Linked DNA regions of Homo sapiens: region 1 is linked to region 2. Evidence: promoter capture Hi-C in 16 types of primary human blood cells and fetal thymus (Javierre and others, 2016). All regions are on one chromosome and are shown on one strand. The core of a region is centred on a gene start or on the middle of the fragment in contact, and the rest is flanking DNA. Distances in the headings are between cores, read along the strand shown.

Region 1 (5,455 bases), core at 529-3,028, 440 kb before region 2:
GGGGCGAGTCCTTTGAGGCGGAGCCATCCTTCTTGCTGCCTGATTTCTCTAGGACTGCCTTCCCTACCCTGGGCTCTGCTATACTTCAGCCTCACCCTTCCGTGGCCCCCAAGGGACTCCATTTTCATGAAAATTGGTGAGAAAAGAAAATAGCTGAGAGCTGAGAAGCAGCTGAGAATTTGAGGAGTGGCTGGGAACTCTGGGAGTGTCTGGGGCTAAGGAAGGACCCAGGGCTTGGGGAGAAACAGAGCTCAGGAAATACCTGGCATTGGGAGTATATATATATATTTTAGATGGTGTTTCGCTCTTGTTGCCCAGGCTGGAGTGCAATGGCATGATCTCGGCTCACTGCAACCTCCGCCTCCCAAGTTCAAGGGATTCTCCTGCCTCAGCCTCCCTAGTAGCTGAGATTACAGGCACACACCACCGCTCCCAGCTAATTTTTTGTATTTTTAGTAGAGACGGGGTTTCACTGTGTTGGCCAGGCTGGTCTCGAACTCCTGACCTCAGGCGATTTCACCGACCTCAGCCTCCCAAAGTGCTGGGATTACAGGCGTGAGCCACCGCGCCTGGCTTGGGAGTACATCTTAAATAGGAGAAGCATGTGGATGGTCTGAGAGTACCTGGTTATCCAGGGAGTAGCTAGGGTTCTGGAGTAAAAGGGGCCAAGGAATATCTAGGATTCATAGAGCATCTGGGGGTTCAAGGAATTGCTGGAACTCAGGAGTAGTAGGGGCCAAGGGAGTAGCTGAGATAAGACAGTAAATGACCTGCAGTAGTTGCTTCAAGCACTGTGGGTGCCCGTATTTGGCGGCCAGGTGGAGGGCATTGTAACCTGGGGAAGGAAAGAAGATTTACTGGAGCTCCAGCTATTCAAGTAGCTCCCAGCTGCTCCCCAAGCCATGTCAACTACTTGTGATGAGTTTCTGAGTCTAGCAAAGTCCGTAAACCCTAGTATTTCTCTCCTTTTTTCCCTGCAGAAAGGATCTTGCTCTGTGGCCCAGGCTAGAGTGCAGTGTGATCATAGCTCACTGTAGGCTTGAACACCTAGGCTCAAGCGATCCTCCTGTCTCAGCCTTCCGAGTAGCTGGGACTACAAGCAAGTGCCACCATGTCTGGCTAATTTATTTGTATTTTCTGTAGAGACAGGAGTCTTGCTATGTTGCCCAAGCTCGTCTTGAACTCCTTGGCTCGTGCGATCCTCCCACCTCAGCCTCCCAAAGTGCTGGAATTAACAGACATGAGCCATGGTGCCCGGCCATCAGGTACTTCTCAAAACCATGCTATTCCCTGTACCCAGAGACTCTCTAAGCCATGGCTAGTCTGTATTCCAGACAATCCCATCTCAGCGACTGTCCACACCCACCTATTCCTCAAGCCCTATTGCCTCAGCTACTCCCCATGTCCCCAGATACTCTACAGGGTCCACTACACCAAAGTTTCAGCTCTGCCCTTCACAACCCACAGTTGCTGTATATGTTCTTGCCAATCCATATACCCTTCCTCTTCCAAATGCCAACTCTGTCCCTGTCTGATGCTCCATGAATCCCCAGCTATTCCATATTCCCTGCCCACCATGCCTGTGACCCTAAAGCTTCAGATTTGACTGTGTCCCCATGCCTAGTTGCCTCCTGAGCCCCAACTACTCCTTTTGGCCACACATTTTTATCTCAGTTATTCCCCCCAGGTCTCCAGTTAAGTCATACATACATACAAGTTCTCCTCGTAACCCAGCTACTCCAAGAGCTCAAGCTACTCCCACAGCTCCAGCTACTCCTAGATCCCAGCTATCCCATATACCTCAGATATCCCCAAACTCTACTTGTTATTCTCTTGCCCCAGATACTTTGCAAGCTCAGCTACTCCCATGAATCCAGTTCCTCCTCCAAACTCCAAGCAGTTCCCTTCAGTCACTTCCTTTATCTCGGATACTCCTATATCCCAGATGCACCTCAAAGCTTAGTTCGTCCAATGGTCCCAGTTATCTCCCAAGCCCCAGTTCTTCCTCTGCCTCAGTCACTTTCTAGAAACTTCCCCAGGCTTGGCATGGTGGCTCACACCTATAATCTCAGCACTTTGGGAGTCTGAGGTGGAAGGATCACTTAGAGCCCAGGAGTTCAAGACCGGCCTGGGCAACACAGGGAGACCCCATCCCTACTAAGAATAGAAAAATTAACTGGGCATGGTGGTGTGCGCCTATAGTCCTAGCTACTTGGGAGGCTGAGGTTGGAGGGGATCCCTTGAGCCCAGGAAATGGAGACTGCAGTGAGCTGAGATCATGGCCACTGCACTCAAGCCTGGGTGACAGAGGGAGACCCTGTCCCTCCCCCCAAAAAAGAAAAACAAAACAACAAAACCCCAGAAACTTTGCAGCTATCCCCCAAGCCCCAGCTACTTCCCCATGCCAGCTACTTCCCCATCCAACTGAACCAATACCTGAATCCTAGTCACTCCCCATCCACAAGCTGTCCACTGGCTTTGCTCGGTGCCAGCCACAGTCTCTATCTTTGGCCACCCCATCCTAACATGCCCCTGTGTGTCTCCCTGGGGGCAGGGGAGGAGCACCAGAGGGAGCCTCCCCTTTTTTCAGCGGGGAACATTGAGACCTGGGAGCAGGGTCTGGCTGGACCCTCAGGCTGGGCACCTGGGCTTAGTTCCTCCTCCCTCCCCGGGGCCCAGCTGGCAGTACCTGCCCCGTCCGCGCTCATGACATTGCTGCCATGAGCTATCATCACCTCCAGACAGCTGGCCGCACCCCGCATGGCCGCCAGGTGGAACCTGGAGGTGAGAGACAAGGGTTCAGCCGCAAGGTTGCCACCCCTCAGCCATCTCACTCCCGGGTCGCGGGCACTCACGCGGACTTGCCCTCGGGGTCTAGCTTCGTGGGCACCAGCCCCTTGCGGGCGATGAGGGCGGCCACCCGAGGTGCATCGTTGTTTTCCACGGCTTGTAGCAGCCTCTCGTCACTCTTGCCCCAGTCTTGACTCTGCAGGGCACGCCCAGAAGTGCGTGGGGCAGTGTTGGCTGCTGTCCCCTCCCCACGCCCCCGACAGGGGCTCCGGGCTCTCACCACCTGCCCCTGGGCACTTGCCTGGCGCCTGCCTCTGGCTGCCGGCTTCGGGATGGGGCAGGGGCCGCAGGGCGGGCAGGAGCCAAGGTCAGTGGGGCTGAGCCGCAGCTGCAGGGGGAGGTGGTCCTGGGCGAGGGGGTCCTCAGACAGTGTCCCCCAAGCCTGCGACCCCCAGCATCTGCCCCCAGGCCCATCACCCCAGTTGTCCAACAAAAGCCCACCACCAGCATCATCCCCTGAGCAGCCCCCTGGCATCTATTTCCAAAACGTTGTCCCCTGGGCTGAGCATGGAGGCTCACGCCTGTAGTCCCAGCATCTGGGGAGGCCAAGGTGGGAGGATCGCTTGAGCCTAGGAGTTTGAGACAAACCTGGGCACCATAGTAGGACCCCGTCTCTACAAAAAATAAAAATCATCAGCGGGGCATGGTGGCTCATGCCTGTAGCTGCTTGGGAGGCTGAGGTGGGAGGATCATTTGAGCCCAGGAATTTTGAGACCAGCCTAGGCAACACAGCAAGACCCACTCTGTACAATAAAAAAAGTTGTCCCCCAATTCATCCCTTAGTGAAAGCCACCCCTGCAACATCGCCCCCAGCAAATGGATCCATGAGTCTTTTCCAAACTACCCTCCAAAGTCCCATCTGAACCCCTAAAAGTCCCCTTTAAATGCCTCTCAGGACCATCCTCTGCCCTGTTTATCCACAACTGCCCTGAAATGCCACCACTGTCCCCTAAACATCCCGAGGCTTCTCCCCTCAACACTATAGCCTGAAATGCATTACGAAATGTCTCCCCCAAATTCCTGAAGTGTTCTGTAAAACCATCCTTCCCAATGATACCGTCATGTCCCAAAAATATCCTCCAAAAACATCCCTCAAATGTTCTCCCAAACTGTTCTCCAAATCATTACCTCTTCGCAAAATCGGCTCTCCCAAAATAGCTTCCAAGTTGTCCCCTCAATGACCCCATCTGTCTCCAAAATGTTTTCCCAAAACTGCACCCCCCAATGCCCTCTAAATGTTCCTAAATGTCCCCATTTGTTTCAAAGAGTCTTCCAAAACGTGTCCACATGTCTCCCCAAATGTCTCTTCCATTCCCCCAAAAGCTGCCCCAACCTCTGTTCCCCCCCACCCCCCGCCGCCGACCATCTTTCCCGGGTCTGGAATGGGGGGGTGGTCCAGGTCAGCCGGGGACGGGGAAGGGAGGGGAGAGGAGGTACCCGCGCCCCGCCCGCTCCTGCGCCCCCTCCCCGGGCCCTACCGCGAAGGAGGCGGCTGCGCACAGACACAGCTGCTTCATGGCGTCCGGGGCGCGGGGCGCGGGGGGCGCACGGGGTTCCAAGAGGAGGCGGCGGCCAGAGGGTCTGGAGGGACCGCGGGGAGCGGCCGGAGGGCGGGGCTGGGCGCTGCCGGAGCTCCCCGCCCCGCCCGCCCGCCCGGTCCCGCCCTCCCTGGTGCCGCCCCCTCCCCCTTGCCCTCCTCGCCAGCCCCCTCCCCCACGGGATGGAATGGGAAGACCCAGGTAGGGGGCTGGGGGCTGGGGGCTGAGGGAAGGGGCGCCGCCCCGGCCCCTCCTGACCTTGTCGCCTGGAGGATGAGGAGGACGCGGCGCCGGGGGCCCGGCTCCCTCACCAGCGCAGGCCGCCGGCTGCATCTCCAGGGGACCCGCGGGCGTCCATCTCCACCTCCTCCGAGTCGGCCAAGGGCGCGCAGGTGCCTCCGGGCCCGCGACGTCCGCAGCCTCGCACCTCCACGCGGCCGGCAGGGCTCTCGCCACTCACACTTTCATTCATTCACTCATTCATTCGTTCGCCCATTCGTTCATTCATTCACCGGCCCGCCCATTCATTCATTCGTTCACTCACCCATTCGTTCATTCACTCGTTCATTCATTCACTCACTCGTTCATTCGTTCACCCACTCGTTCATTCCTTCACTCATTTGTTTATTCGCTCACCCTTTCATGCATTAATTCACTCACCCATTCGTTCATTCACTTATTCATTCATTCGCTTGTTCATTCGTTCATTCACTCGTTCATTCCTTCACCCATTTGTTTATTCGCTCACCCTTTCATTCATTCACTCATTCATTTGTTCACCCATTCACGGGCTCACCCATTCATTCATTCATTCATTCGTTCATTTACTCGTTCATTCGTTCACCCATTTATTTGCTCACTCTTTCATTCATTCATTGGTCTCACCCATTTGTTCATTCATTCATTCTTATATGACCCATTCACTTATTCATTCCCACACCATTCCTTCCTGCATTCACTCATTCCTGCATTCATTAACTCACTCATTTGTTCATCCATTTGTTGGCTCACCCATTCATCCATTCATTAGTTCACTCACCCATTCATTTGTTCACCACCCATTCATT
Region 2 (5,558 bases), core at 3,059-5,558:
CCACTTGCTCAGCCTTCCTGACCCTCCCCAGCCTTCAGATCAGCTTGGGGCCACAGCAGAACCCTTCCTGCAGCCCACAGGTCCTGCCCTCACCTCCTCCCTCTCTCGCCCTCCTCACTGTGCTCCAGCCACACAGGCCTCCCCGCTGTTCCTCCAGCACACCAGGTGCGGTCCTGCCCCGGGGCCTTTGCACAGGCTGTGCCCACTGCCTGGAAAGCCCCTTCCACCCACTCCCGTCTTGGCTTCTGTGTCCCCCAAACCTCAAACTAGAGCAGCCAAACACCCCGGCTCTGTCCCTCATTCTCCTGCCCCCTTCCTGGAAGTGTCACCACCACAGCTGCCTGACTTCCTCCTTCCTGTCTGCCTCCCCAGCTAGCTCCGCCAGGGTGGGGACTTGTGTCTGTTTTGAGCCCTTCTGTATCCCTCAAGCCTAGAGCAGGGCCTGGCATGCAGTCAGTGGTCAATAAGTATTTGCAGGACGGGTGCGGCGGCTCACGCCTGTACTCCCAGCACTTTGGGAGGCCGAGGTGGGCGGATCACCTGAGGTCAGGAGTTCAAGACCAGCCTGGCCAACATGGAGAAACCCTGTCTCTACTAAAAATACAAAATTAGGCCAGGCGTGGTGGCTCACGCCTGTAATCCCAGCACTTTGGGAGGCCAGGGCAGGCGGATCACGAGGTTATCAGGAGTTCGAGACTAGCCTGGCAAACATGGTGAAACCCTGTCTCTACTAAAAATACAAAAATTAGCTGGGTGTGACGGCGGGCACCTGTAATCCCAGCTACTCGGGAGGCTGAGGCAGGAGAATCATTGGAACACTGGGAGGTGGAGGTTGCAGTGAGCCAAGATCACACCACTGCACTCCAGCCTGGGCGACAAGAGCAAAACTCCATCTCAAAAAAAAAAAAAAATTAGCCAGGCATGGTGGCGCATGCCTGTAATCCCAGCTACTCTGAAGGCTGAGGCAGGAGAACCGCTTGAACCCAGGAGGCAGAGGTTGCAGTGAGCCAAGACCACATGACTGCATTCCACACTGGGTGACAGAGCAAGACTCCATATAGAAGAAAAAAAAAAATTTTTTTTTTTTTTTTTGAGACCAAGTCTCACTCTGTTGCCCAGGCTGGAGTACAATGGCGTGATCTCAGCTCACTGCAACCTCTGCCTCCCAGGCTCAAGCAATTCTCGTGCCTCAGCCTCCCAAGTAACTGGGACTACAGGAATGTGCCACCACACCCGGCTAATTTTTATATTTTTAGTAGAGACGAGGTTTCACCATGTTGGCCAGGCTGGTCTCGAACTCCTGACCTCAGGTGATCCAAACGCCTTGCCTCCCAAAGTGCTGGGATTACAGGTGTGAGCCACGGCGCCCAGCCTGAAAAAAAATTTTTTTTAAGTATTTGCTTAAGATAAAGCATTGTTTTAGGTACTTGACATGTGTTCTAATCTCATGAATTCCTCACAGCCCTCTGAGGGAGGGATGGGTCCCATCACCCCATTACAGATGGGCAGAGCCCTGAAGCCCCCTGCCCTAAAGCCAGGATGGGTAGGTGTGACTATTAGGCTCCGGCTGGAGTGGCGATCCGCCTCTCCGGGAAGGGGTCCTCCTGGGGCGGAGGAAGGAATAGTCATTGCAGGATGACACAGCCTGGCCTACTCACCATTCAGGGTACTCAGCATCCGGTTTCAGGGGTACATCCTGCCCTTCCTTGTAGATGTTGACGCCCATGGCATATGTGGTGAGCTGGACAGGATCTGTGCATACGTCGGGGTCCTTGAGGGCCTCGCTGGTCACTGCACCTTTTCCCGATTTGGCCCCCTTCATAACTGGGGAGACGAGAGGGAGAGTCATTTCAGCCCAGCCCCTCCTCTGGAAGCCAAACTTCTCTCACAGAACCCTGTCTCAGGTGGCCTCTGCCCCTGGCTGGACTCTGCTACACTCAAAACTTTCTTTTTTTTTTTTTTTGAGACGGAGTCTCGCTCTGTTGCCCAGGTGGAGTGCAGTGGCGCAGTCTCAGCTCACTGCAAGCTCCGCCTCCCGGGTTCAAGCCATTCTCCTGCCTCAGCCTCCCAAGTAGCTGGGACTACAGGCGCCCACCACCACGCCCAGCTAATTTTTTGTATTTTTAGTAGAGACGGGGTTTCACCGTGTTAGCCAGGATGGTCTCGATCTCCTGACCTCGTGATCTGCCCACCTTGGCCTCCCAAAGTGTTGGGATTACAGGCGTGAGCCACCGCGCCCGGCCACTCAAAACTTTTTTTTAAAGACAGGGTCTCAGCCAGGCATAGTGGCTCATGCCTGTAATCCCAGCACTCTGGGAGGCCGAGGTGGGAAGATCACCTGAGGTCAGGTGAGTTTAAGACCAGCCTGGCCAACATGGTGAAAACTTGTCTCTACTAAAAATACAAAAAAAAAAATTAGCTGGGCATGGTGGCATATGCCTGTGATCCCAGCTACTCGGGAGGCTGAGGCAGGAGAATCACTTGAACCCGGGAGGCGGAGGTTGCAGTGAGCTGAGATCGCATCGCTGCACTCCAGCCTAGGTTACAGAGCAAGATTCCATCTCAAAAAAATAAAAAATCTAAAAAATTAAAAAATAAAGACAGCCCGGCCGGGCGCGGCGGCTCACGCCTGTAATCCCAGCTCTTTGGGAGGCCAAGGTGGGCGGATCACGAGGTCAGGAGGTTGAGACCATCCTGGCTAACATGGTGAAATTCCATCTCTACTAAAAATACAAAAACATTAGCCGGGCATGGTGGTGGGCACCTGTGGTCCCAGCTACTTGGGAGGCTGAGGCAGGAGAATGGCGTGAACCCAGGAGGCGGAGCTTGCAGTGAGCCAAGATTGCGCCACTGCACACTCCAGCCTGGGCGACAGAGCGAGACTCCGTCTGAAGAAAATAAAAAAATAAAAAATAAAAGCCCAGGCTGGAGGGCAGGGGCACAATCATGGCTCACTGCAGCCTCAAACTCCCAGGCTCAAGTGATCCTTCTGCCTCAGCCTCCCAAGTAGCTGAGATCACAGTTGTGAGCCACCATGCCCCGCTTATTTTTATTTTTATTTATTTATTTATTTATTTTGAGACAGAGTCTCACTGTGTCGCCCAGGCTGGAGTGCAGTGGCGTGATCTCGGCTCACTGCAACCTCCGCCTCCTGGGTTCAAGCAGTTCTCCTGCCTCAGCCTCCTGAGTAGCTGGGATTACAGACATGTGCCACCATGCCCCACTAATTTTTGTATTTTTAGTAGAGCTAGGGTTTCACCATGTTGGTCAGGCTGATCTTGAATTCCTGACCTTGTGATCCACCTGCATCAGCCTCCCAAAGTGCTGGGATTACAGGCGTGAGCTACCGCGCCAGGCAATTTTTTTTTTTTTTTATACAAACAGGGTCCTGCTATGTTGCCCAGGCTGGTCTCGAACTCCTGGGTTCAAGCAATCGATCCTCCCTCCTTGGCTTCCCAAAGTGCCGGGAATAAAGGTGTGAGCCATCATGCCTGGCCTCGAAATCACTTTAAGTGGGATTTGGACACAGCATTAAGTAACTTTAAGTGGGATTTGGACATAGCATTAAGTAACACCGATGCTTGGAATGACCAAGTCATTCAAGTTATATTTTGTCTGCTATGTGTCTGTCTTTAAGGCCGAACATTGGACAATTTCCCCCTTTCAACAAAGGAGATCAGGCAAGGCTGTATCCAGCTAAACCTTAATAACCTTGTTTTGTTCTTGCTGAAGTGGCCAATTAAACGGGCTCCATAATTTCTTTGAATGTTTGGTAACGTCTTGGCCAAGGTTACCCAGCGATTTGGAGGCAGGCAGAGAAACAGAACTGGAACCCAAGTTCATGACCTCCCCAGACTCCCTTCAAATCCTTTCCAACCCGCGCCTGCGCAGTGAAACGCGTGGTCTCCACGTAACCACATCCTCCTCCCAGGCCGCTCCGCCCCAAGCTGGCGCCTGCGCCCTGGGTCCAATCGCTACAGTATCTCCGAGCCAGACGCCCGAGCTCCAAGCGGCGCTGGGTCCCTCAAACTGCGCCTGCGCATACAGCCTGGCATCCGCCTCTCTGCGCTTGCGCATCAGTTCTAGCACCACCTCCCCAACCACCGCCTGCGCACTGTCAATTCCTCAGTGCACCCACCGTCCCCATTTGGTTCCTCTTAACCCAGCTCACCTGGTTTCTTGGCATAATCCCGGGCCAGGAGTCTTCCGGAAGTGGCGGGGTTTAGGAGCTCCCAGGCCCCCCAGCCGGCCCACGTCCGGGTAGCCCCGAAAAGGCGTTTGGTCGCCATGACGTATTGCGGGCAGCTTGCAAGTGCACGTTTCCGGAAGACGTCAGTGGCCCAAGGGTGTTTGGGAGTTGTAGGCCCCGTGGAAGTGTAGGCCCCGTGGAGGTGTCTGGGAAATGCGGTCTCCCAAGCTTTCATAATCTATGGTGATTTCTTCAGACTTTTGTAGACATACACAGTTACTATAGGAGGAGGCGTTCAAGGGATATTTCATTGACTTCTTGCCCTTCTTCAATTACATAACATTTACTAAAAATATCACACTTTATATGTTCCTGATTCCATCCAATGAGTAATTATTCAAAGCTTTAAAGTTAAAAAAAGAAGATTAACAATGAGTCTAATATACTCCAGTAGGGCTGGAGTCTAATCACTGTTAATTTTTATAACATTATATTTTTAAAATTATATATAACATATATAATACATATAATATATAGTATGTTTTATATATAATATATAAATTAATAATATATATTTTATATATTCTTTTCCAGCTCTACTACTGCTAAATCCTTAACCCGCTTGATCTAATTTAATCCTCACAATTGAGAGGTAGGTACTATTTTTTCCCCAGCTTATAATGAGGAAACTGAGTTCTCAGGGAGGTAAAGTTCCCAGGCCGACCCCAAATCCATGGTGCACCTATGTGTCTCCCTACTGTGAGCCAAACCGAAAGTCCGTCTTTAACAGGGTCTCCACGACGCTTCCGGTGCCTCAAGGTCCCAAGGAAACCACCTCTCACACTTCTTTAATATTTCCCAACCCCACTTCTCCCCATCTGCCATCCTTTGGAATAATGAACACAGCCCCCAGAGCCAGGCAGTGATTATTAACCCTATTTTGCAGGAGAACAAACAGGTCCTGGGGCCAGCCGGGGCAGTCTGCGGGCCGGGAAGCCTGGGATTCGAACTCCCCTCCAACATCTGCAGTTGTCCCAGCGCCCCCGCGTGGCGAGGCTGGGTGGGAGAACTACATTTCCCAGCAGGCCTCGCGAGGCCGCGCATGCTCAATGGGCCAGGGCTCTGCGCGGATAGAGGAGCGGGCGCCGGGACCGGGAATCCCCGAGCTGCGCCTTCTGGGGACGCGGCCCGGGCTACGTCGGGGCCGTCCGTGGGGAGCGGGGTCCTGGAGGCTGCGCGGGGCTGAGGCGGCCTCGATTTGGGAAGTGAGTGTCCTCGAGGTGCAGAGCGCAGTCTGAGTCGGCGCTTGAGGTCTTCGGTCTGAGGGGGGACTAGGGTCTGGGCTTGGGGCTGGGTCCTGAAGTCGGGG

Evidence for each region. The method cuts DNA at HindIII sites, captures the fragments that hold promoters and counts their contacts. A CHiCAGO score of 5 or more calls a contact.
Region 1: a contact is called between a fragment that was not itself captured here and the fragment with the promoter of MRPL54 in region 2, in 1 of 17 cell types (total CD8 T cells). The highest score is 5.1, in total CD8 T cells.

Annotation. Positions count from the first base shown.
Region 1 is chr19:4,197,406-4,202,860 of GRCh38, reverse strand. It overlaps ANKRD24 (ankyrin repeat domain 24), which reads right to left. Exons shown (of 22, transcript NM_001393985.1): 3 at 3,092-3,178; 4 at 2,856-2,986; 5 at 2,690-2,778; 6 at 771-835. Among named protein-coding and RNA genes, the nearest start is that of ANKRD24, 17 kb to the right of the region's middle. RefSeq lists enhancers at 2,239-2,885, 2,886-3,532. The HindIII fragment of the contact is 364 bases long and covers 1,597-1,960 here.
Region 2 is chr19:3,761,432-3,766,989 of GRCh38, reverse strand. MRPL54 (mitochondrial ribosomal protein L54) reads right to left here and starts at 4,308. Exons shown (of 3, transcript NM_172251.3): 1 at 4,172-4,308; 2 at 1,659-1,824. The coding sequence starts at 4,289. It overlaps APBA3 (amyloid beta precursor protein binding family A member 3), which reads left to right and starts at 5,298. Exons shown (of 11, transcript NM_004886.4): 1 at 5,298-5,454. It overlaps LOC105372248 (a long non-coding RNA gene), which reads left to right and starts at 4,350. Exons shown (of 3, transcript XR_936268.1): 1 at 4,350-4,432; 2 at 4,784-4,841; 3 at 5,136-5,236. RefSeq lists an enhancer at 3,945-4,434 and a silencer at 5,096-5,413. The HindIII fragment of the contact is 13,040 bases long and covers 1-4,419 here.